4 separate regions of the Homo sapiens genome follow, and all the other regions are linked to region 3. Evidence: promoter capture Hi-C in 16 types of primary human blood cells and fetal thymus (Javierre and others, 2016). All regions are on one chromosome and are shown on one strand. Each heading gives the region's core, a stretch centred on a gene start or on the middle of the fragment in contact. The rest is flanking DNA. Distances are from core to core; before and after follow the strand shown.

Region 1 (6,409 bases), core at 947-3,446, 240 kb before region 3:
TGCTGCTGCTTAATTTCTCCCCGATTTCACACAGCACCATCCTGGGGGCCTCTAACAGAGTTCCAGGGTGATTGCTAGCATGGAGGAGGGAGGCTCCTGTGCTGGGTAAGAACCCGTCCTCCAGAAACTAGGACTGTCTGGGCTTGAACCCAAGTGCCTTGCTGTGTCAGTTGGGGCAAGATTTGCATCCTCTGTCTTCAGTTTCCTCATCTGTAAGATGGGATAGTAATAGTAACTTCCTTTTACAGTTGTCTTAAGTTCAAATGACATACTAAGTGTATAGACTTAGCACAGTGCTTGACACATAAGAGTTCAGTCAGTATAGGCTGCTGTCATTGTGATTGCTGTTATTATTGTTAACAGGTGTCCATGTAGGGGAAGTCAAAGCTGAGTAGGGTCTGACATCCCACCTTGTCTCTGGTGCCCTTGACAAATGCCAAGTGACTTCATTTCCATCACTGAGGGAGAGGCACCCAGGTGGCTTTGAATCTCGATGAGGGAGTGGAGTCAGCAGCTTTATCTATCTTCTTTATTTCCTCTGCCCGCTCATAGAATTGGGGCTAGAGAATGGGTGGAGGTCTGAGCAGTACAGTTTCAAAAGGGCTATAGAAACAAGTTGTTTTCTTTTTTTTCTCTCTACTCTGTTTTCCTGATGAGGGAGGCCCCTGCCTACTCCTCTCGATCTTCCAGCCCTTTGCTTTTCACCTCTTACCACCTCCCTCACCCCCAATCCCATCTTCTCCTCCAGCCTTTCTTGGCCATTTAATTAGCGTGTTTATTCCCTTTGTCTGGCATTGCCATCGACCTTCTGTCATTGCAGGGCCCCTTTCCCCCTCCTCTCTCTGCCCATGACCTCTTCCAGCAACTTTCCCACGGAAAAAGGAAGACCAGGGAGGGCGGGAGGAGTGGGATGAAGAGAAAGGTTTGGGGGCAGGAACAAAAGATCCTGTGAATTATTCAGAGACAGAAGCAGGGGTTTTCTAAAGGGAAGCAAGAAGGGGGCTGTGCAGTGGAGGCAAGCGTCACCCCTCTAGCCCCCTCCTCTAGAGCTGAGGATTCTCTGTCTCCAGCTAGGCCTCAGTTGCCGTAGAGACAAGATCCTTGTCCTGCTGGAGGATTCCTGGACTGGTGCATAACTCCGAGAAAAACACTGCTTCTCATCATGGTGACTGCAGAGATATACTCCCTCCCTCAAAACTCCTTTCTCTGCCACCTTGCCAGCTCTCTTCTCTTGTCTTAGTTTTATGTTTTAGCGACAGAAACAAAAGACCCTCCATATCAGGGAACAGGCCAACTGAATGGGGGCAGGGGGTGTCTTATGATTGGCCAAGCAGTGGTTAGGACAGACAGTTTTGGCTGATGGAGTTGCCTGAAGGATGTGAGATGCATGCCTGCCATTGGGTTGCAGTTTTCTAGGAGAGCTCAGGCTTTTGAAGCTGAGGCCCCAAAAGGGTGTGACCAGCTGGGACTTCATGGGCTGTTCTCCAAGGTTTAACCAGTAATAGTGGGGGAGGTGAGATCAACCGTCTCAAGTACTGCCCAGCACTCAACTTTATGCTGGATACCCATGACCTCGAGAATCAGAAAATTGGAATATTAGAGCAGAAAACGTCTTTATTCAGCCCAATGCCCCTTTTATACTTGGGAGGTAAAAGCATAAACAGTCACCCAAACTTGCACAGGGCTCAGCTGTTTACAGTTAGTTGACCTAGTTCCTAAATCCTCACAGGGACCCCATGGGGCAGACATTTAGGATGCCCTGTTCACGGCTGTGGTAACTTAGATATGGTCAACAGAACGCAGAGAGGCTGTGCGGCTCTCCCAAAGGCAAAGCAGGTCAGTGCTGAGCGGGGCTAAAACAAAGACTCCCTGACTCCAGTGCAGAGCTCCTTCCATTACACGGTTCTGGATTTCACAAGCAAATATACCCCTTCTCCCCAGACCCCTCCTTCCCAGAGCCCAGTGACAAGCCTACCCGCCATGTCATTCCTCTCCTCAAGTGGCAGGGACATGTATCTCTCCCACCTGTTGAACCCATAGTCTTCTTGTGTGTCCCAGGTCCACATGCGGGCCCTTCCCTCCCTCTCTCCACATCTTGCCCCTGAGTTCTTGAGCTGCCTGAAATGTGTGGTGTTCTGGGGATTGGATTATTTCCTGGTTGGCCAGATTGGGTGTGGAAACCTGCCAGTCCAGTTTATGGGAACAAAGGTGGCTTTTGTCACCCAGATCACAGCTACTTATCAGCTGGAGTGGGGGCTCTGAAGATGGCGAGGGAGAAGGTAGGTGCAGGTCTGGGTTCTGAGTGCTGCCCCCTGCTGGGGAGCTGGGAGCAGGACACAGGAAGCCGGGTCTTTTCCCCAAACCTCTCCAGAAAGAGCTGGGCGAGGAGAATCGGCCATAAGTGGAGGACTCAGGGCTTGGGTGGCCATTTTTTTCTCAGATATTGGTGGGAAGTTGTCAGCCAGTTTCCGTAGCGTCTTCTAACCCAAGACCCTCACAGTTTTACAGATGGGGAAATTGAGGCTCAGAAAAGTTAACTACCTTAGCGAGAAACTCCTGGCAGGGATGGGACTTGCACCTGATTTTCCTGACTGCCCATCCACCATACCATGCCTGGCCCTGGGGAGCAGGTCACAGAGTCCAGAAACAAGTCCATTCTTCTTTTCTTGGCCCAGTGGCCCTTGTTTTGTATTCAGCTTTCTCCTCCATCCTCCCATCCTGGTTTGATTTATCCTGGGGACAGTTTCAGAAGAAAAGCGGCTTTGGGTGGCCTGGTGAGACACAAACATTCCCATTCCCACATCTGTTCTTTCACATCCATCTCCCAGCATTGGTGCACATGTCATCATCCCTGGGAAGGGACAGAGCCCCAGGCAGGCTCAAAGTAGGTTAGAGCTGGGGAAGAACCTTCCTTACAGGCATGAGGGGCAGAGACAGACCCCACTGCTTGGCATGGAGGTCCCGTTGCAGCTTTCCCCATTCCTAGTGGTGGGTTTATTCATTACGCTCTCTGAGTTTCTGGTCTATGTTTGCAGTGTGGGATGTTATAAGGATTACGTAAACACAAGAGCCTGGCATAGTAAATGGGCTCTGGTGCCAGATTTTCTGGCTTAGCTGTGTGATCTTACCAAGTTTCCTTAACCTCTCTGTGCCTCAATGTAGTTGTCTCTAAAATGGTGTTAATGACTGCACCTCTTGCATAGGATGTTGGAAGGATCAGACAGGTTTATATGCTGTGAGCAGTTGGAGCCACTGTTGGGGGGAGGTGAGCTCTGTGCATGTTGGTAACTGTAACATGTGAGTGAAGAAGGGCCATGAGCCATGTGTTCACTGCTGACCCCCAGCATCGGGAATAGCAAACAACACAAAGTAGGGCTCAATAAACACTTTTTGGATGGATAAATCAATACATAAATATTCTTTTTTTCCTCCTCTTGCTTTCCCAGCACCATCCTGCCCCCACAGCAGAGCTGTTGGCTTTGCAGGCTGTCTGCCTCCTGGAGTCATCTGTGACCGGGTCCATTAGCCTCTCCAAGCCCAGCTGCAGGAGTGTGGGTGACAGAGAGGATGGCGCAAGACCCAGACCCATGTGTCCCATATTTTCCAAGTCAGCGCTGTGGGAGGGCCGCGCCTTTCCCAGGCAGCTGTGCCATCTCCTCTCCAGCCTGGCTGGAGTTGCTGGGGAGAAGGACAGAAAGGGGAGGAGGCTTTGCCTAATATTTATATATGTCTCAGGGAAAAGGAGAAGTGACAGCTGTTCTAGCAGTGGTTCCAAATGTTAGGCTGGGGATTGCTACATCTGCAGCTTCTCAGGAGCTTTGGGAAATGCAGCTTCTCGTGCTCCACAGGTGGATATTCTGGTCTGGATCTGGGACCTTGTCCTTCTAAAAACATCTTAGGTGACTCTTTTGTACACCCTGGTTTGAACTTGCTTCTTTGTTTTTTCATCCTTCAACAAATATCAATTGAATGCCTACTAGTGCCTGGCTCTGAACAAAACAGACAAAGATATTTTGCCCTTTGTAGAGCCTAGATTCTAGAAGGGGGCATAATAAGCAATAATTTCTTTTAAAGGATCCTAAGTAGAGCAGGAGTCCTGGCGTGGGATGGAGGGGTGGGTAGCAATATTCAATACTATGGTCTCAGGAACCTCACCTGATAGGTAGGATTTAAGCCAGGACTGAAGGAGTTGTAGGAGGAAACTAAGCAGTTGTCTGGTGGAAGGGCATTTTGGGTACAGGGAACAGCATATGCAAAGGCTCTGAGGCAGGAGTGCACCTGGCTCCTTGAGAGCTGAGTGATATGAGAGGAAGCAAGATGAATAAGAGAAGCTGGGTGGCAGTGTTGGCAGATCGTGCTGGGCTCTGTAGGCCTTGCTAGGACTTTAACTTTGACTCTGAGTGAACTGAGGAACATAGTTCTGAGGTTCTGAGTGGTGGCATGACATGGCCTGACTTAGGTTTTGAAGATGTCACTTCCTGCTGTCTGCTGTGTTAAGCACTTAACTGCATTTTATTAGAATTAAATACTGGTCCATTTTGTTCCACGTGTCAAAATGACATTGTATCTGCTCTTTCCTTTCACAGGGTCCCCACAGTCCCAGTGAAGAACCTAAATGGGTCCAGTCCTGTCAACCCTGCCTTGGCAGGTAAGAGAAACCCCAGGATGCTCTGGGTTAAGGTAGAGAAATCAGAGTGATGAAATAGGTCATGAGCATTTGTGGAAAAAAAGGAGAGAATCTAGATATTAATGAAAGCAAATGGTGATTTTAGGAATTGCATGGGAAGGGTATGAAGAGTTTGGAAGAGAACTGATTACTAAAAGGAAAGCATGCAATTGAAGATAAGTGAGTGAATGAATAAGTTTCTGGGGAAAGTACAGGGTAGAGAATCCAGGAATTATGAGAACTTTCTGCTGGAAAGGAGGAGAGTAGGTTAATGGGGAAAGAGGAATTTGGGGAATGTTGAGAGCTAAGTCTCCAGTCTTTCCTCACCCATGCCCTGCCCCTTCCAGGAATCACTGGGATCCTCATGAGTGCAGCGGGGCTGCCTGTGTGTCTCACCAGGCCACCAAAGCTGGTCCTACACCCACCCCCCGTCAGCAAGAGTGAAATAAAATCCATCCCAGGGGTTTCCAACACAAGCCGCAAGACCACCAAAAAACAAGCCAAGAAAGGTACCAGCCTCTTGTCTCGTGGGGTACTGAGAGTCAAAGACTTGGCTGTCAGCCCTGAGTCTGCCTCAACCTCCAAGGGTCATAGCCACGGCTTCACCCTCTGTGCCTCAATTTCTGCATCTGTAAGTGGGCCTAACCAGTAAATCTTGACGATTATACCACAGCTGATGTGTATGGATCAGATGGAAACACCTTGAGAAATAAAAATATACAATGCAAAAGTATAGAAACATAAAAATATAAGGCGTGGTACAAAGAAAATATGTTAGAAGAGAAAGATGACTTTGGCATTGGAACCAAAACAGACTGGATTCAAATCGTACCTTTGTTTCTTGCAAGTTGTGTGACCACATGGAGCCCCTATTTTCTCATCTTTATAATGAAGTAAAAATAGTCACAACTGGTATAACTGGTATCCAGCAGGTATATCCTGGAATGCATCCATGACAGTTAGGAAGTAGTCCCTGTCCTGTGTCCCCCTAGAACCTACAGAAATCTCTGCTCTGAAATCCTCCTTTAGGAACCCCCTCCTACCTGCAGGCAATCCGGCAAATAAGGGGTCAATATCTGTACCTTCCTAGCACTGCAGGACCCCAGCTTAGCTCTGTGGCTTGTCTTTCTGGTCACTGGCATTAGTTGTTAAATTTGACCATCTCCCTAAGCCCCAATCTTGCAGGCTTGTGAAGTTTAAATTGGATCATGTGTGTGTTGCACTTAGCCCAGGGCCTGGCAAGAAATAGGCTCTTAATTACTAGAGCTTAATTCTTACAAGAGAAGCAGGGCAACTGGAGGAAAGGGCCTGCATCGAAGCTTTTGGCTGTTGCATGATCCACTTCCTCAAACCCTTGTCCTACTTTTCCAGTCCGTCAAGATTTCCCTGCTTAAATGAGCTCAATTGCCTTGCTCATAGTCTTATCGGAAATAACAGCATTTTACACTTTCCCACTCTTCCTGTTATTATTAATAGTGCATATCGGGCCCTTATCTGGCAGAGAGCTAAAGGGCAGTACATCCATTTGCTCATTCAATTGTCAAAGCAACCCTTTGAGGTAGTGCTATTGCTCATCCCCATTTCATAGGTGAGAAAACAGAAGCTTAGAGAAATTAAGGGAGTGGCCCAAGGTAGCACTGATCATTTTTCAGGTTATATCATCCCATCCTCTACCTTCAGGTTGGGCTACCTTTTAAGAGTCCAGTCCCCTGAAAAAAATCCCTAAATCATTGCAGCCCATCA
Region 2 (6,692 bases), core at 965-3,464, 160 kb before region 3:
GATTCCTGCTGGGCTGAGCCCTTCTCCCTGCCTTCCCAGGCCCAGCCTCTGCTCACCTGGCTGGCTGTGGCCAGTGGGAGTGAACCACTTACAGAAGATAGCATCTCACCAGCCATGTTGCCCTGGGCAACTAATACAACTTATTGTAGCTCCATTGTACCTGTGGGGCAGGTGCAATGAGGGACAACAAGTGAAGTCAATGACAGCTGCTGCTGTCATGGTCCACCCAGCCAGAGTGTCTATTGGCAGGGCCTGGGCAGGGCTGTGGGCCCAGAAGGGAGTGAGCCAACACAGACCAGCTTCTTCCCTCATCAGCTGTGTGACTTTGGACAGGTCACTTAACTTCCTGGGACCTCCATCTTCTCCCCTGTAAAAAGCAGTGATGCCTCCTATTTAGGGTATTAGGAGGGGTGCCCTGGGTCCAATAGTCAGGTGACTTGCCCAAGGCCACCGCTGGTCAGGGCAGAGGAGGGCTGCACACCTCCCATACCTCCCCCATTTTGCTAAAGTCCAGGGGTTTCCGAGAGAATTTTTCCCTGAGAGACAAGGGCACATCTGGATTAGGACGGACAGGAGCAGTGGCCCCGCAGGTATTTGGAGATGAGGTGTGAGGCCGGCTGCCAGCACCACCATGGTGCCGTAGGCTCTGCCGGAAGAGCACTCCTACTCCAGCTGGTAATGTCCTCTTGTCAGACAGATGTGGTACTGACCAAGCTTGGCCTTGCTGCCCTGTGGTCCCCAGCCTGGAAGGGAGACCAGCCAACTTTGTCTGAAAGGGTACGGTGTATGAAGAGCAATGGGTAGGGGAGCGGGGATCCAAGGTAGAGGGTGGCTGAGCACACAGGGACAGCTGCAGAACAGCTTGCCGCTCCAGGATAGTGCTCGGGGAGAAACAGGTCTGCCTCTGGCCCCCAGCCCCCGCCTGCAGCACCAGCAGATGTGATGTGTTCTCCCCAGGGCCACGCTGGCTGGGCCTTGCCGCAGGCCCAGTAATCTCTGATCATTACGGTAGAGGTTGTAGAGACAATGAGTACAGGGGCCGCTCCTGTACAACCTGCACCCCCTCCCCAGTGACAGCGCTCCGGACACACATGGAGCCAGCTGCTCAGTGACACAGGCTCAGGGAAGCCAAAGGCCCCCACCTCCCAGGGTGCAGCTGCTGCTGGAGCTGGGCCAGGAGTGCTACCAGGAACCCTCCTTCCAAGCCCGAGCAGGTGTGGTCTTCTTGACAAAGTGGTCCTGGGGTCAGCATTTGATGAACAGTGGAAACTCTCTCTTAGCTGCCTCCCTTTCCCAGCATTTGGCCAGAGCATCTCAGCCTCTGCATCTCCTAAGCTGGACACACTCCCAGGAATCCACTGCAGGACTTCATTCATTCATTCACTCATTCATTCATTCCACACCCTCTGAGCACATACTGTGCACCAGCCCTGGAGCCAGATGAAGTCCTTACACTGCTCACAGGCTCTTGTGGGAGGAGGGCAGGTAGACAAGTGACCACACACCCAGACAGGGCCTCAAGAGAGCAGAGCAGGAGACACCTGGGAGAAGCCTGGTGGTCAGGCAGGGAGAGCTTCCTGGAGGAGGTGACGCCTGGGATGTAGAACCAGCCAGGCCGAGCAGGAAGAGGGTGTTCCTGGCACAGGGCACAGGACATAAGGTCTGGTGCCCACAGCACCACACATACAGAGACCAGTGTGACAGGGGCAGGCTCAGGAGGGGGTCCACCTCTTGTTCCGGAATCAGTTTTGTTCAGCAGAACATGGGACAGCATACAGCCCACAGATACCTCAAGATCAGTGTCCGTGAGGGAATGTAGTGAAGGCAGGTGGCTCCCAGCCCTGCCAGGGGGCTGCTGTGGTGGAGACCTGGTGGCTTCACACTGGACCTGCCAGCCCTGGCCCATGATGGCCCCCATCACTGGATGCCATGTGGCACCAGGAAAGGGAGGGCTGGAGCTTCAGACGCACTGGCATGAGTCTGCTCGCCCCTCCCTGCTGTCTCTTAGTGTTGAGGGAAACAAAGATCACACCCTGGGAGGCAGGAGGCCGGGTTCAAGTTCCTACTCAGGTACTGCCATGTGGCATGACCTCACCTGGGCCTCCTCATCCCACTGGGGTCCCCACCCTTCCAAGTCCCAGCCCCTGCTCACCTGGCTGGCTATGGCCAGTGGGGCCGAGCCACCCACAGAGGGCAGCATAGGAGAAGAAGTAGGTGGCAAAGGAGTGGCTGTCCCAGAAAAGCAGGGCTGAGCTGCTCTTGTAGAGGCTGTGCAGCCCCTCCTCATGGGCCACCATGGCCAGGCAGTGCAGCAGCCCATGGTACTTGGACACTGAACATACAGGAGACACAGGACACACGAGGGGCACAGACAAAGGCCCCGAGGCCAAGGGCCGCAACTGCTGCATCTGTGTCTGCAGGCAGACCTTAGCCACCTCAGTGGGCGAGGCCAGGAACACCTGCAGAGGAGGAGAAGGCAGGGATAAGATGGCACCTACAGCTCTGCCCACAGCCTGCGCCTGGCCTCCCACAGGCCTCGTGTTACCCATGGTGACCTTGGGGAGCCTGAGCCCTGAGATGCTGCAGGTTTGCCATTTGCTTCCTTTCCCTCTCCCTACCCATGTGTCTTGAATGCCATGCCACCTGGCATGGAGGGATCCGTTGCCCTTCGTGGATATCCACGGCACCCCATGCTGGTCAGGCAGCCGCGGGTGGCCAGAGGCTCTGAGTCAGGCTACCCAGGTCTCCACTAATCCACTTCTAACTACATGACCCGGATGGATCCCTTCATCTGTGTGGGCCTCAGTTTCCTCATCTGTAAAATGGAAATTCTATGACCTAACACGACACGGCCATTGGGAGGACAGCGGAGTCAGCAGATACAAAGCTCTGCAGCCCTGCCTGGCAGGCAGTAGACTCTGTGAATACAACCAGCAGGACTCAGCTCTGCTGCCAATGTGCTGGGGGCTTGTGTTCAGCTTATTGCAGAGTGCCCTAGTGAACACCATTTGGGGTCTTTAATGTTTAACTGGGGCATATTTCTAGAGGGAAATTTCCGGGTGAAACATACCTGAGCTATTTTGTATTGTAATAGATTTTGCCATTTTGGTGGGATTTGGAGGGGCCAAAGAGGGACAGTGAGACTTCCAAAGAATGGATCCTGACTCAGGAGCCCAGAGTGGACTTTGGGGTACTGGCCCAGTTCCAGAGAAAATCAGCAGCCCTGGCATTTCCAGAAAATGGGGCTTCTTGGCAAGTCTGAGCAAAGTCAGAAGTCCCCACATTCTCATCTGGCTCACTCAGTGCCCAGGAGGAAGCCGCTGGCCCACCTGAGCCTGTTTCTTCATCTTTAAAATGGGGCATGGGTCAGGCATGCTAGCTCATGCCTATAATGCCAGCACTTTGGGAGGCTGAGGCAGGAGAATCACTTGAGCCCAGGAGTTTGAGACCAGCCAGGGCAACATAGCAAAACCCTTGTCTCTATGAAAAATACAAAAACTAGCCAGGCATGGTAGCACATGCCTGTAGTGCCAGCTATTCAGGAAGCTGAGGTGGAAGGAACGCTTCAGCCTAGGAGGTCGAGGATGCAGTGTGCCATGATCACGCCACTGTACTCCAGTCTGAGAGACAGACAATATTTTGTCTCCAAAAATAAATAAATAAATAAAATGAGACAAGACAGCCCTGTACCCAGGACACGGGAACCTCTATGCTTTAAGCTTCGCCTGCTTGCATGTGTGCAATGTCCGGCTGGTTGATGCTGACCACACAGCCCCAGGCAGTGGGTGGGTACAGTCTCAGCCACTTTGAGAGGCGGTAGATGTGTCTCTGGGGTGAGATTGGTGTGTGGAGCGGGATGAGCCCCCAGTCAGTCCTCCCAGACATCCTGGCCTCCCTCTGAAATCCCAAGAGGTTAGGGCTCTGGGTCTGGAGTCTCTGAGCCTGTGTAGCCCCTGGGATAGACCTCCAAGCTACAAAGCCTATCACAGGGCATTCTGTGCTGCCTCTCCTCCCTGAAAACAGGGCACAAAGGCAGGGCTGCTCCCCAGCTCCAGCTCCCGCTCTACTTTTCCCACCGAGCTCATGGCATGCATCAAACCCCACCTCCCAGCCCACTGGCAGTATTTGTGGGCAACAACCGATAAGTACACCACGACTCAGGCAGAAACAGCTGATGAGAGTTCGGGGAAAGACCTGGAATTTGAGGCCCAGCTCTGCCACAGATGGCACCGTGGCAAATAGACTCAAGCCCCGTGCCTCTGTTTCCCTATCTGCAAACAAGGACAACAGCTACCTGTGGCAGGGTTAACGAGTTATTAGTCAGAAGAGACAGAGGTGAAGTCAGAGAGCTGACCATACCAGGCCAGGCCAGACCCTGCTGCTGGTGTTCCTGAGCCCCCGCCACAACCCAGCCTTGTCCCTTCAGAGTCCCCTGGACCCCAAGCCCTTTTGGGGCTGCTTTTTGCAGCACCTCCTGCTAACCACATTCCTCCCCACTTTCTAGCCCTTCCTGCCCTGCCTGGGAGGCATCTTCAACCCTGGAGTCCACTGGCTGCAAGGGCTGAGAAGGCCACTTGTCCTGGGCCTCAGGGTTCTCACCTGGACAAAATTTGACCCCATAGGAGGTCAAAATTCCAGGCAGGAGGCGCTTGAGCCAGCTTAAAGGGGAAAAGACAGGCAGCTTTGAAGAGAAGCCTCCTCAAGGCAGGCTCACCAGGATCCCCTGCCAGCTGGGCCTGGCACACAAAGAGGCTCAGTAAACACATAGGCCAGGTGCAGTGTCTCATACCTGTAATCCTAGCACTTTGGGAAGCCAAGGTAGGTGGATTGCTTTGAGGCCAGGAGTTCAAGACCAGCCTGGGCAACTTAGCAAGATCCCTGTCTCTGCAATAATAATAATAATAAATAGCCAGGCATGGTGGTGCATGCCTGTAGTCCCAGCTACTTAGAAGGCTGAGGTAGGAGGATCCTTGAACCCAGGAAGTCAAGGCTGAAGTGAGCCATGATCATGTCACAGCACTCCAGCCTGGGTGACAGAGACCATGTCTCTGGAAAAAAAAAAAAAGGAAAAGAAAAGAGGAAAGAACACACATGGACAGAGTGAACAGGAGCTGCCTGCCACCCTCCATTTGGACAGCAAGGCCCTGTGAGGGGCCTTGGAGGTGAACCCAGCTCCCGCTGGCCCTTCATCCTCCCACCATGTGGCACAGACACTGGAGGGTCAGGCAGCAGAGGAGGTCGCTGTCCGGACTCCAGAGGGCAGAGCCCGAAGCAGGGGCAGGTGGCAGAGCCCCACACAGCTGCCCCAAGAAGACATGGCCCTGCCTAATGCTGGTGAGTGCTGGGCAGGTAACCTGTCCCAACGTGCTTTGGCTCAGTCATCCTTTCGGCCAGCCACCACCCACCCTCTCCCACCCACTCCTGACTCTGGAATGCCACCTCCAGCTCACCTTACCACTCCAACTCAGTTGCACTGACTGGAGGCCTGGGAGTGCCTGCTCACTCAGCCATCCCCCACTATGATAAAGAGAACCTGAGAGAGGGCACAGCCAGGCCAGCTCATGGCTAGGCCCCCACAGGGGCCCAGAGGCTGAATTTTGTTAGCCCTGGGCAATGTAGGAAGGACCAAAGGCCTCAACCCCCGCCGTGTCCATAAATGCCAGGTTGAGCCCCTCCTGCTGGCCCCTCTATGTCCTGACCAGGTGGCCGGCACCACCCCTTTGACCTTCTGGCTCTGGAGCACCCTGCCCCCACCCCCAGGCCCCCATCAGCTCTATTTTTATCCAAGAAGCACTCGCCCTGTGTCTATTTAGATCACTCCCCATTGAGTTTCTGGTCCTCTCATAATCTAGGCCAAGCCTCCTCAGTCTTCATGGCCCCCTCGAAGGCCAAGCGGATTCTGCATGGCACCCAGCCTGCCAGGAGCCCACAGCTCACCCGAATGGTAGCCCTGGGAAGCTAAATGCTCCCAACTAATGGCAATGCAAGAAACTCACACACCATAGTGGCAACTGTGGGATTGAATGCATTGTCCACAAGAGGTCCCAGGTCCTTCACTCTCTGAGGCCCAGAGGGCACCCCCTGGCAAGGAGGATTCACTCCCACTGAGTGGCTGAGAGGCTGGAGATTAATCCAGACGACAGCAAGTGTTTATTCATAGCAAGAAAGAGACCAGTCGGGCAGAACTTTGACTTGTCAGTGCCAAACCTCAAACCGACAGCTCAGGCCCCAGCCCCTGGCCATAAAGCCACCTGACCTGTTCCTAGGTCTTCAGCAGCTATTTGGAACCTTTGCCAGCTGGGGCCAGGAGCCCCGCTGTGGGGCCATGATTTCCCCCAACCCATCCAGACAGTTGAAAAGATGACCTGGTGAAACCCCGTCTCTACTAAAAAATACAAAAAAATTAGCTGGGCGTGGTGGCAGGCGCCTGTAGTCCCAGCTACTCGGGAGGCTGAGACAGGAGAATGGTGTGAACCCAGGAGGCAGAGCTTGCAGTGAGCTGAGATCACGCCACTGCATTCCAGCCTGGGTGACAGAGCAAGACTCTGTTTCAAAAAAAAAAAGGATGCCCTTAGGAAGCCTTCAGGATTTCAGCTGATTAAGTAAATTAACATGTATGATCCACTTCCTGCAAAGGTGTGGACAGCTATGGGTGGAGAGCCAGAGCATCTTGCCCTATAACAGAAGGGCAG
Region 3 (5,873 bases), core at 236-2,735:
GTATCTCTTATCTTGGTGAAATCTTCCCTACCAGAATGTAAGTTACTCAAAGACAGGCAGGGAGTTTTGCCCATTCTGTTTCCTGATCTATCCTTGTAACCACCCAATGGGTTCACCTTGCCCACTGCCTAGACAGAGCTCATTTATCAAGACAGGGGAATTGCAATGGAGAAAGAGTAATTCAGGCAGAGCTGGTTGTGCAGGAGGACTGGAGTTTTATTATTACTCAAATTAGTCTCCCTGAGCATCAGGGATCAGAGTTTTTAAAGATAATTTGGCGAGTAGGGGCTTGGGAAGTGGGGAATGCTGATTGGTTAGGCTGGAGATGGAATCAAATGGGTCGAAGTGAGTTTTTCTTGCTGTCTTCTGTTCCTGGGTGGGATGGCAGAACTGGTTGAGCCAGTTAACGGGTCTGGGTGGTGTCAGCTGATCCATCTAGTGCAGGGTCTGCAAAATATCTCAAGCACTGATCTTAGGTTTTACAGTAGTGATGTTATCCCCGGGGCCAATTTGGGAAGGTTTATACTCTTGGAGTCAGAGGCTGCATGACCCCTAAACAGTAATTTCTAATCTTGCAGCTAATTTGTTAGTCCTGCAAAGACAGACTGGTCCCTAGGCAAAAGGGGGGTCTCTTCAGGAAAGAGCTGCTATTAATTTTGTTTCAGAGTCAAACCATGAACTGAATTCCTTCCCAAAGTTACTTCAGCTTATGCCCAAGAATGGACAAAGACAGCTTAAAGATTAGAAGCAAGATGGAGTCAGGTAGATATGATTTCTTTGACTGTCATAATTTCCTCAGTTATAATTTTGCAAAGACAGTTTTATCATAAGTACAAAGAACAGGGCCTGGGACATAGGTGCCCACTAAATATTTTGCTGAATAAATAGATTTTTTTCCACCACTTATCCTCAGAGTTTACCAGAAGGGTTTGGCCTATGACTTACTATATTTGGTGTGTTACTATTATAAGAACAAAACACATAATATATAATTAATCACAAACAATAATCATATAACGATCATAATATAATAATATAATCAAACACTTATTTAGTACTTATTGTGTGCGAGGTACTGTTTGAAAGACTTGATTTTTATAAACCCATTTAATTCTCCTAATAGACTCAAGAAGTGGCAGCGTTTCTCGCCCCATTTTACAAATAAAAGGTAGAATAGGCTGTAAATGCATAGTTGTGATTTGCTGCTGAATGGATGAGGTAGGAGGGAATGAGCTGGACTTACTGGATTGCATTGGGCAGAAGGGTCCTGCAATCTTGTGCTACAAGAGAAGAAATATTGATTGCTTTGTTGCCATAACATCTTTTGCAAACCAGATCATCTGCATTTCCCACTGCTCCATGGCTGGTTTCTCGTTCCATCAATTTCTTATGCTTTGGCCTCATGTAAATAGTAAACCATGCTTCTGGAATCTCCGCTCCTTTGTTAACAAGTCTTCCAAATAAATGGGCTGTGGGAGTTCATTATTTTAATGGGCAGAGGTAGCCACATTCTTTCCCCAAGAGGCTGCCCTCTGCCACTCACTCCAGGGTCCAACATAAAAAGCCCAGCAATCATTAGAGCTAAACATTTCTGAGCACTAATTGTTCCCTGGAGTGGTGGCGAAAAGAGCCAACCGCTCATCACGGGAGCCTCTTTCCATCCCCCTACCTATTCTTCTCTGAGCTTTCCCTGATTTGAGTCCAGGAAGACTCCCTGCTGGGTTAGTAGATGCCTTTTGCTTAAAAGAAATTTCATCAGAAGTAAATCACACATAAACACACCAAGCCTTGTGCTGAAATATACTGGTTAGAAACACATGTTTCCAACTCTGAGAATTGGGTTTAAATTCTGGCTCTGCCCTTTTATCAATATAAACATGTTCAATGTTGTTTAATGTCTTAAACTTATCAACTCCCTCATTTGTAAAACTGGTGTAACAAGAATACCTACCTCAACAGAGTTGTGATAATTAAATAAGCTGTGAATAAGAAAGGCTTAGCACAGTGCCTAACAAACAGAAATCACTCAATGAATGTAAACTAATGATGTCATTAACTCTGTTTCTTGGGTCATGGCCAAAAATATGTCTTTCCTTTCTATCTTTTTATTGTGACTTATTTGCATCACGATGAAAAGATTTCTTTTCTCTTTATTTTTTTTAATGAGGCTGGATGGGATGAAGGGCTTGATGGGGCTCTTCTTTTCTCTTTTTAATATTTTGGGTGCTACTACCAGCAATGCCACTACCTGGATGAGTCACTGTGGGCAAGTCAATTAACCCCTCCAGCCTGAGTGAATTGGGCTCACTCTCCAAGAATTCCTCCAGCCCTGAAAGTCTGATGTTTCAAAACATTGATTTCCTGTTTTTTTAAATGTTTTCTTCAGAAATAAAGTTTATAAAAAATGAATTCATCTATTTCATGGAGACTAAGTCAGCAATCCTCAGTCTCAAAAGAAAAAAAATTAAATGAGAGAAATGTCTTCTATATAAAGGGGTATAATTACTGAGACTCTTGACTTACAAGGTAACAGGCTTAATTTAGGGAAGAAATTTAGCAACTAAGACTGTTGACAGAAACGGAGGTAAATGTCTTCAAGAATCAACTGTGAACATGAAAAGGCAAGGAAGTCCATCCTCAAAAGAAACATTCTTATCTAAGTTTGAAGATAAACTGTCCTAGGAAATTCTGATGCTGAAAGAGTAAACCCCAACTAACTATGAAAGAGTTTGATACTGAGTTAAGATCTGGGAAATTTAAAAGGTAGATCTCACAGTTATGAAGGATACATTTTTCTAGGATTAGAAAAGGCTGATAAGGGCCGGGCGCGGTGGCTCATGCCTGTAATCCCAGCACTTTGGGAGGCCGAGGCGGGCAGATCACGAGGTCAGGAAATTGAGACTATCCTAGTTAACACGGTGAAACCCCGTCTCTACTAAAAATACAAACAAAAAAAAAATTAGCCAGGCGTGGTGGCGGGCACCTGTAGTCCCAGCTACTCAGGAGGCTGAGGCAGGAGAATGGCATGAACCCGGGAGGCAGAGCTTGCAGTGAGCCGAGATCGCGCCACTGCACTCCAGCCTGGACGACAGAGAGAGACTCCGTCTCAAAAAAAAAAAGAAAAAGAAAAAGAAAAGGCTGATAAGATAGGGTAGTGATAGATTTCATCTGTCATGGCAACTCTGATTATAGTGATAATGACTATCTACAAAGTAAGATTGAGAATCTTAAGAATAAAGAGCAATAATTTCTTTTGCACCAGTTTGGATGGAGCTGGAGGCCATTATTCTACATGAAGTAACTCAGGAATGGAAAACCAAATACTGTATGTTCTCACTTATAAGTAGGAGCAAAGCTGTGAGAACACAGAGACATACAGAGTGATATGGACTTTGGGGCCTCAGGGGGAAGGGTGGAAGTGGGATGAGGAATAAAAGACTACATATTGGGTATAGTGTGCACTGTTTGAGTGACAGGTACGCTAAAATCTCAGAATTCATCACTAATAGAATTCATCCATGTAATCAAAAACCACTTGTACCCCTAAAGCTATTGAAATAAAAAAAGAACAAATTATAAATTAACAATGTCTGCATTGGACAGAAAAATGCAGAATGAGGACTCAGAATGTATTTATTAACCTAGTCTATAAGAAATCTGAGAATGAGGAAGAAAGTCATCCTATTAAATCCATCTGGATAAAACCATAAACTCTTCATGCCCTTACTTTAAAAAATCAAATTTGATCAAAATAGCAGAAGTTTCAGTGAACATCAGAAAGTAGCAAAGGAAATATGTTACGGGACAATATGAATATATTTAATATTACTCGTTTACACTTAAAAATAATTAAGATGATGTGATGGTGAATTTTAGGTGTCAACCGGACTGGATTAAGAGATATCCAGATAGCTGGTAAAGCACTATTTCTGGGTATGTCTGTAAGACAGAGGATGTTTTGAACCAGTGGACTGAGTAAGGAAGATCCACCCTCACTCAATGTTGATGGGCACCCTCCAATCAGTTGAGGGCCTGGAAAGAACAAAAAAGCAGTGGAAAAGTAAATTCCCCCTCTCTCCTCTGAAGTTGAGATATCTTTCTCTCTTCCTTTGACATCACATCTCCAGGGTCTCCTTTGGAGTCTGGGATTTGCATTAGTAGCCCCTTAATTTATCAGGTGCTTGGCCTCATGTTGAGAGTTACACCGTTGGCTTTCTTGGTTTGGAGGCCTTTGGACTTAGACTGAACCATGCTCAGGAAGTCAGGATTCTGTGATTGTTGAGCTTGCAGATGTCACATTATGGGACTTCTCAGCCTCCATAATCTCATGAGCCAGTTCTCCTGATAAACCCACTCTCACCTACCCATCTGTTAATATCTGTCCATCTATTCATCTATCTGTCTATCTATTCATACATCCTCCTGGTTCTGTCTCTCTAGAGAACCCCAACTAATAAAGATGGTAAACTTAATGTCATATGCTTTTTACCACAATAAAAAAGTATGAAAGCAAATAGCACATAAAGGCAAATAAACTCCATATCGAATTATAAGTGTTTAGAATTGGAAGTGCTTTGATGTTCAACTCAAAATTTATCTCCCTAGGATTCTATGCATCTTAGAGTTTGTTCTCTGACAGCATCTCCTGAAATATGATTTACTTTCATTTTAGCTTAACATTTTAGCATAGCTATTTTAATGAGTTTACTTGAATCATTTCAAAGAAAACCCAGAGAAAAATCCAAATATCCTTAGTAGTAAAACATCTTAACTCTCAAATTGGAATTTGAAAAGTTATCTCAGGGTGCATTTCTTCCACTAGCGACTAGGAAAAATTTCAACCTGATATGGATCCAAAGTGTTTTCACAAGACATCTCTAACAAACCCAAAGTGAAGGTATATTGAAAAGTTTTAGAGGTCTTTAACAATTTATACAAGAGGGAAAGCGCAAAGGCATCATAGGACCTGAATTATAATTCCCATTCTACTATGGCAGATTGCGCTGTTGATCTCTCTTGACCCCTCTCTGGACCTCAACTTTTTTTATTCTGAAACCAAAGAGCTAGAATAGAAAACCTCTAAAAACTCAAACAGCATGATTACTGCTAAGATAACTTAATTACTAAACCATTGTCTGTCAAAACCAAGCACCTATTGGTTTTTATCCGTATGGAATGTTGCTGCCACCTAGTGGAAATATGCCTAAATTGTAGGGTCAGTTGCAATAGTGATTGATCATCCTCAAACACATTACATCCTCACTGTGATCCAAGCACTGTACCATGTGCTTCTCAAGCACCTGAACTCAATATTATCATGAAGTTCAATTCTGAGAAATAAACTAGATCAGGGAGAGGGGCAACATACTAAGCATAATGTAAATGGTAAATAACAATAATAAGCAAATATGTTTGGATAAGGGTGACGTAACTGAAAACAGGTATGTCATAAGTTTACATTCATGGTATAATTTTTTTAAAGCAGATTTTTAAATATTTAAAAAGAGATACAATGACATAACAAGAGAGCAAATGAGAAGAGTAGGCATCAGAAGTAAAAATAATTGGTAGTGGGGACCACACGTCATGGGCTGAAATCCATCCGATTGCCAGTGTGTGGTCTTGGATGCCTCAGTTGATCTTACATAAGCTTTTCCTTTATCTCTGAAAGTGCACCAAATATATCAACATTGTATGTTTGTGTGAAGAGCATATAATATACAATCTATATGAAAACCATTATATAATCTATTCAAACATGAGGGGTTATCATGTTGATTTTTAAATTGCCCATTTGTCTCAGAAGAAACATCTCCAGCTGTAATATTCTGATAATTAGTTTATTAGAAATAGCATGAGAATCTATATTATTG
Region 4 (6,746 bases), core at 3,219-5,718, 200 kb before region 3:
GAATCTTCCTCTTACATGCTCCAATAGCACCCCTTGCGTTATTACTCTGTATTTCAATTGACTTTTTGTTTGACTCTCTCCTCCAGTGAATGTAAGCTCTTTAATGACAGAGGACTGTGTCATTGGTTTATCATTCTCTTATTGGAATGTAGCAATGTTTGGTACATAGTTTGCTTATATTGAATGAATAAAGACGTGAATAAAACAGACAAATCTGACAGCATTTCTCAAACATTTCCCTGGAAAAGCAGGCCATGACTCATTGAGATGGAATACTCAAGCTTAAGTAACGTTATTATGAAATTTTTATTTGAATTTACTACAATATTTTTGAACAGTTACCCTGGGTCTAGTTTGTGCTATTTGTGTTTCTTACTATAAAAGAATTGGTTTTCTGGTCTGAAGTTATATCCTTGGCAAACGTGGGATGGTGTAAACTTGATGTCTTACATAATGAATCAATTACAAAGCCTAAAGACAGTGCTCCTCTATGCCAAAAGCTTTGGCCTTATTTACATCTGATCTGGTCTTCAAGGCTCTGGCCCTGCAAGGCTGAACCCATAGCCAGTTCCGTACCCACCTTGCTTCCCATCTTTGCCTGATATCTGCAGCTAATGAGTCTGTCCTAAAGGTACCTGGTCTTACCCCTCTCCCTGTTCCTAACCCTCCTACATAGATATAGAAGCTGGGTGGGGCAAAGGTTGGGAAGGAAGAAGAAACTCTCACAGAACCTGACTTGCCCCAATTGTAATAACACTTTCATTATGCCAACAGCAGGAGAAGGACTAAGTAGGGGAAAACTAGGAAAGAGAACCAGGTCAGCATAATGCAAATACAAGACAGGAGGCATTTATTTAAAATTTCTAGTTATTAGAGAGCCAAATAGGAGCTTTGCTAATTAGAACTAGGGTCCTCACTCCAGCTTTTCCTAGATCCTTGATAGGTCTTTCTCTCTTTTCTACTGGTCCTCTCTTCAAGTTAGATTTTTAATTTTTACCTTGAGAAATTAGGGCCTCATGGGACAGAAAAAGTAGCACAGGGCTAGAAACCTGGTAACTTTGATTCTATTCCTCATTCTCCCACTAACCTAAGGGTGACTTTAGACAAGTCACTTCCCCTCTCTGAGTCTCTGTTTCCCCATCTGTAAAATAAAAAAGCTTGTTGAGATTCTCTCCAGCATCTGAATGACACACAGTCTGTGATTCTGCAATCCAGTGATAACAAACTTCTTCAAAATTATGACCATGATGTTTTACTTGAAAAAAAAAAAGAATATCTTGTTGAATCCAGGTCATGGTGTGGAAATTTTTCCGTGTTTTGTTTCTGCTGATACTTCCCCTTTGTGACTTGCTTCCTTGTGTGGTTTGTAACTTATGAGTCTTGAGCTGCATTTCCACTGGGGTTGTTTGCTGTGGGAGGCTGGTTTGCTCCGGTTTATGGAACTGTCCCTCCAAGATAGTTTTAGCTTTGCCTCTGCTGAGGCCTACTCTATCAGTATATGAGGACTTAGATTCAATATACTGAATAAACTTATACTGAATATGCTGAGTATATGAGGCCTTATGCTGAACCAGTGTTTATGGTAATTTCTTGGTTTGGGAACAATGTGAACAAAAACGTCACACCTATGTGGTCATAAGCCTTCTTGACTCCCAAGACAGTTCCATCACCCCCTTGAACATTGTACACAGGACCAGCAGCCTGGATCCCCACCCACAGCCCTTAAAGCCCCAAGACTCTGCCATTAAGTCTACGTAAGGCCCAACAAGCTCCTTAGCTGCAGGGCTTCAACTCCCACTTACTGCTCTGATTTTGAGTTCTCTCTTTTTGGCCTTCAGGTATTTCCCTTTCTTGGTTTTGAGCTTGAATCTTTGTGTTTGAAGAAATGTGTCTATACCTGAGTATATGCAGGGCAGGGTTTCCATGCATCAGCTCACCCAGCCAAGTTCTCTTTTGTTATAATTATTTTGTAATTGTTAACTTTTTCTTAGATGTAACAGGTTGCCATGCATGTATTGTGGTTTCAGGGCTGTGGGAAACAAACTTTCCTGCTGTCACACCCCTGCCCTGAATAAAATAATACTTTCACAGAAGTCTAAAACCCTTTTTTTCTGAAAGTAACAACTTTCTTTCCATAGGGAGAGCTCAGGCTGCAAATGTAATTAATCTGCCTTCCCTCTCCCTGAACCGCTAGAATAAAGATGAAGAACTGCTATTTCACCAAGTGATGACAACACAACTTTTCCTGAGAGTCGGGAGAGGGCAAAAGAGCAGCTAGTGATTGCATCAGTGAAGTGGGGAGAGAAAAAGACAGAGAGAATTGAGGTCTGAGGGTGGAGAAAGGTCTGGAGACTAACTTCACTGGCAGTGGGATGTTAACAAGAGCCAGATCTCTGCAATGTTCTTCTCCTTTACTTTCATGGTGGGTGAGATAATATGAAGGAATTCTTCATAGAGAGGAAAGATTATGGTCAGGACATGAGGATTCAGGAGCAGTCGGTGTGAATCCTAGCTCTGCCACCATCTTGCAAATTGCTTCCTTTCTCTGGGCTTTCATTTTCTCACTTACAAAATTAGAGGATTATATTAAATTTGTGGATTATAAGCATTATTCAGCTGTAGAGCCTTTCTTTTCCCATGTAAGCTTACATGGAAACCAAAAATATAAAACATATGAAAGAAGAGCTCCCTCGGTTGAGCAGGAAGCAGGGCGCCAAAGCCCAGAAGTTCACTTCCTCCTCACCTCTCAGAGCAGGCCTGGGATCCCTGGAACACAATTTGAAAACTGCCAGTCCGTATATTCTCTTATGGTTTCTTCCATTTGAGGCATGATAATTATGATGAGAAGAAGTTTTCCAAGCCACAGGATTCATGGGATAGCTGAAGTAGCATGATTTCCTTGAAAACAGGAAATCAGAGTCGCCAAACAGTGGAGCAAGGGTTTTCAGACCGTACTGCATTCTTCCTTCTAGAACCTTTCACCTCCTCTTGGGTAAGTTGTCAACAAGCAACACCCAGCTGTTGTGTGATAAGTGGAAAGATTGCTGGGCCAGAAAAGAGTGCTTTCATTAACCAGCTGTGAGACATTAGCAAATTTTTTCCCCACTGGGAGCTCCAGTTATTTGCTTGTAAACAGAGGAGAGTGGGTAGAGCAGTCACTAAGAGATCATGGATAGCTCTAAAAATGTTGTGAGGTACAGTCAAATTAATAATGTACTCCTCCCCAAATTTGTTGAGCAAATACTGAGTCAGGCACCAGTTGCTTTGTCATGAAGATTATAGAGTCATTCAAGGACAGACATTGAACACGATGCACTATGTGAAAGGGAAGTTCAAGATGCTGAGAGAACGTAGCAGGGAAGTGAATGTGGCCCTGGGGATCAGCATGGCCCTCCAAGACAGACGGAGAGGGAGATGGAGATTCAGAGACAAAGAGCCACACGTGGAGACAGAGACAGAGAAACAGAGAGAGAGAGAGACAGACAGAGATATGGAGAGAAACAGAAACAGACACAAAGAGAGAGAGACAGAGAAAGAAGAGACAAAAACAGAGTCAGAGACAAAGATAGACATAGAAGAACAGAGAGGAATGACAGAGACAGAGATAGAAATAGACAGATATATAGAGATAGAGACAGAGATATATACAGAAACAGAAAGACAAAGAGATAGACATAGAGACAGAGAACAGAAACAGAGAGAGAGAAAAGAAACAGAGAGATAGACCACGGATAGAGATACAGAGACAGGGAGACAGAGATAGAGAGACAGAGTGAGTCATAGAGACAGATAGAAAGGCAGAGACAGAGACAGAAACAGATTGTTTTCATCCATTTTAAATTGCTATAAAGGAACACTTGAGGCTGGGTAATTTGTAAAGAAAATAGGTTTAATTGGCTCACAGTTCTGCAGGCTTTATATAAAGCACGGCACCAGCATCTGCTCCTGGAGAGGACTCAGGAAGCTTTGAATCATGGCAGAATGCAAAGGGGGAGCAGGTGCATCACACATCGCATGGCGAGAGTGGGAGCAAGAGAGACAGAGAAGGTGGATGTCCCAAACTCTTTCAAACAACCAGCTCTCAGGTGAACTAACTGGGCAAGAACTCACTTATCACCAAGGGGATGGTGCTCTTCCATTCATGAGGGATTCGCCCCCATGATCCAGTCACCTCCCACCAGGCCCTACCTCCAACATTGGGAATCCCATTTCGAAGGGAGATTTGGAAAAGACACATATCCAAACCATATCACAGATAGAGAGACAGAGACTGAGACATACTGAAAGAGAATGGAGATAATGTTGGGAAGTCTAGGGTGACTACAGATTACAGAGGTGGCTGTGGTTTGAGCAGAGGCTGGAGAGACAGGTATAGGAGTGGATTTTATCATGCATTGTATATGATAAGAATTGGGGACTTCATCAGTTAATAAAAGGTTTTATTCAGGAGAGTAAAATGATACAATTTCTCTTTTATAAGATCCCTCAGGATGTTCCATGGGGGTGGGTTGGAGTCATTTTGTGTATCATTGCAGTAAGTTCCTATGGCTGTCTCAACAAATTATCACAAATTTATTTTCCACCTATCAGGGATTGCGGGAGCAGTTAATAAGGAGAGGGATGGATGTTTTAAAGTCTACCACTGGATTAAGCCAGGTAAGAAAAGTCTGACACACAACAGTGTGCTTGAGGTCAGAAGTCTAAAATTAAGGTGTCTTCAGAGCTGCATTCCCTCTGGAGGCTTCAGAGGAAAATCTGTTTTCTTGCCTCTTTCAGCTTTTGTATTCTTAGCTCACGGCCCCTTCTCCGTATCATTCCAAACTTCTGCTTCTGTCGTCACGCCCCCATGACCAACTCCTTTATAGAACATAAGGTAACACATTCACAAGTTCTGAGGGTTAGAATGTAGACATCTTTGGGAGAGAAGGGCTTATTTTTCAGCTGACCACAATCATTATTGAAAGGCGATGGTCAAAGCTTCAAACACGTATGCCCTTTAGTGCCCTCAGCAGGGTGGATGGTAGGATTTCCTGTGATTCTTTACAAATAACAGTGATAATACTTGGCAGTGAAAATAAATATGAAAAGCTGCCTGGAATGTCCTCTAAGACCTGCCAACTCATTCCACATTGTTTATTGAGCCCATACTGTATTCTTGACTATCACTGTATGTAGTTTTCCATTTCAAATAATAATCACCCTCACCTGGTATATTCTCCTCCTCAGCAAACTGTCAGTGAGAACAATAGTATGATATGATATTTATATCTCAGCACATGGAAAAGTAGTAAAACAACATGTGTGTTTTACTATTGTTTTATTGTTTTATTCCTGACTCTACTCCACATCTCTATAGGCAGGAGAATGTGTTGGTTTCATTGAAGGTAAAAGTATTTGTCAAAGTGTTTGTCAAAATCTCTTAAACTGCCATTGAGCAATTGATAAAGGGAAGAGGGTCTTCATTTGCTCCCTTACAATTTGATTTTATGCTTTGATTTAGGGATGGATTAAAGGACTTAATATTTTTGAGCAGATATTAGAGACCATCTTCATTAGGAGTTATCCCCATAGGTTTTCAGATTTTTAGCAGTCTATCTTTCCCTGCAGTTTTAGCAGTCTTTGTCACAAAAAGGGAGTTGTGGTTCTGTTAAAATGATCATAAATAAAAGTACTAAAGTCATAATCCTGATAGAAAGGGAGCAGTTCCACATTACATGGATGAGTTACCAAAAATTAGGTTATGATGCTGTTCTGTGGTTTCTTTTAAAAAATGATTTTCCTTCTTATTTTAATTGGATCCAAGAAACCACAAAATGTAGAGAGATTCAAAACACACTTGAGGGTTGACTTTACATGTGTTAGAAGTTTCACTGATTTCATAGTTCACAAAATTTATTTTACTTACATTATTTAGTTTGACCCTCACTCAAACTTGTACAGGTAATTTATATGATGGAAGAACAGCTATTAATATTTCCATTATATACATGAAGACAGTGGGATGTCTACTTTATCTAAAAAGACACACAATTTGAGTAAGAAACCAAGCACAATTCTTCGAATTCCTATCCTAATGGACTTTCTAAAGTGGGCATTTATGATTTCTTTTCTTCTGGTGGCAGTGGATTGACATTTCTGATATTTGTTACCAAAAGAACCATGACACATTCTCTTTCTAATGCATCATCTTTCTGTGTAAAGCAAAATCTTGGACTTTATTATATTCTACTTTGCTCCAAAATATTTAAGCAAGCATCCTGCAAAGATATATAAAATATACAAAATAAAAAATTTAGGCCAGGCTCAGTGGCTCAGGCCTGTAATCCCAGCACTTTGGGAGGCCGAGGCGGGCGGATCACGAGGTCAGAAGATCCAGAACATCCTGGCTAACACGGTGAAACCCCGTCTCTACTAAAAATACAAAAAAATTAGCCAGGTATGGTGGCAGGCACCTGTAGTCTCAGCTACTCGGGAGGCTGAGGCAGGAGAATGGCATGAACCTGGGAGGCGGAGCTTGCAGTGAGCCGAAATGGCGTCACTGCACTCCAGCCTGGGCGACAGAGCGAGACTCCATCTCAAAACAAAAAAAAAAAATTAAAGAATGATAAAAGCAAAAACAGAGATGCAGAGAAGAGCCAGGAATAAGAATAAAAGGCCGGACGCGGTGGCTCACTCCTGTAATCCCAGCACTTTGGGAGGCCGAGGCGGATGGATCATGAGGTCAGGGGTTTGAGACCAGCCTGGCC

The links. The method cuts DNA at HindIII sites, captures the fragments that hold promoters and counts their contacts. A CHiCAGO score of 5 or more calls a contact.
Region 1: a contact is called between a fragment that was not itself captured here and the fragment with the promoter of OR5A2 in region 3, in 11 of 17 cell types (monocytes, total B cells, naive B cells and 8 more). The highest score is 22.7, in monocytes.
Region 2: a contact is called between a fragment that was not itself captured here and the fragment with the promoter of OR5A2 in region 3, in 3 of 17 cell types (total B cells, naive B cells and monocytes). The highest score is 17.2, in total B cells.
Region 4: a fragment that was not itself captured here is called in contact with the fragment with the promoter of OR5A2 in region 3 in 3 of 17 cell types (total B cells, naive B cells and monocytes); the score reaches 8.0 in total B cells.

The regions. Positions count from the first base shown.
Region 1 is chr11:59,184,149-59,190,557 of GRCh38, forward strand. It overlaps DTX4 (deltex E3 ubiquitin ligase 4), which reads left to right. Exons shown (of 9, transcript NM_015177.2): 3 at 4,587-4,648; 4 at 5,014-5,175. LOC124902675 (a long non-coding RNA gene) reads right to left here. Exons shown (of 4, transcript XR_007062682.1): 1 at 5,499-6,409; 2 at 2,542-2,733. Among named protein-coding and RNA genes, the nearest start is that of DTX4, 15 kb to the left of the region's middle. RefSeq lists a silencer at 2,287-2,376. The HindIII fragment of the contact is 7,574 bases long and covers 1-5,983 here.
Region 2 is chr11:59,261,248-59,267,939 of GRCh38, forward strand. It overlaps the pseudogene SLC25A47P1. Among named protein-coding and RNA genes, the nearest start is that of MPEG1, 52 kb to the left of the region's middle. RefSeq lists enhancers at 1,956-2,456, 2,457-2,957. The HindIII fragment of the contact is 3,005 bases long and covers 713-3,717 here.
Region 3 is chr11:59,424,928-59,430,800 of GRCh38, forward strand. OR5A2 (olfactory receptor family 5 subfamily A member 2) reads right to left here and starts at 1,486. Exons shown (of 2, transcript NM_001001954.2): 1 at 1,244-1,486. The HindIII fragment of the contact is 12,260 bases long and covers 1-5,648 here.
Region 4 is chr11:59,221,536-59,228,281 of GRCh38, forward strand. No RefSeq gene overlaps it. Among named protein-coding and RNA genes, the nearest start is that of MPEG1, 12 kb to the left of the region's middle. The HindIII fragment of the contact is 1,013 bases long and covers 3,963-4,975 here.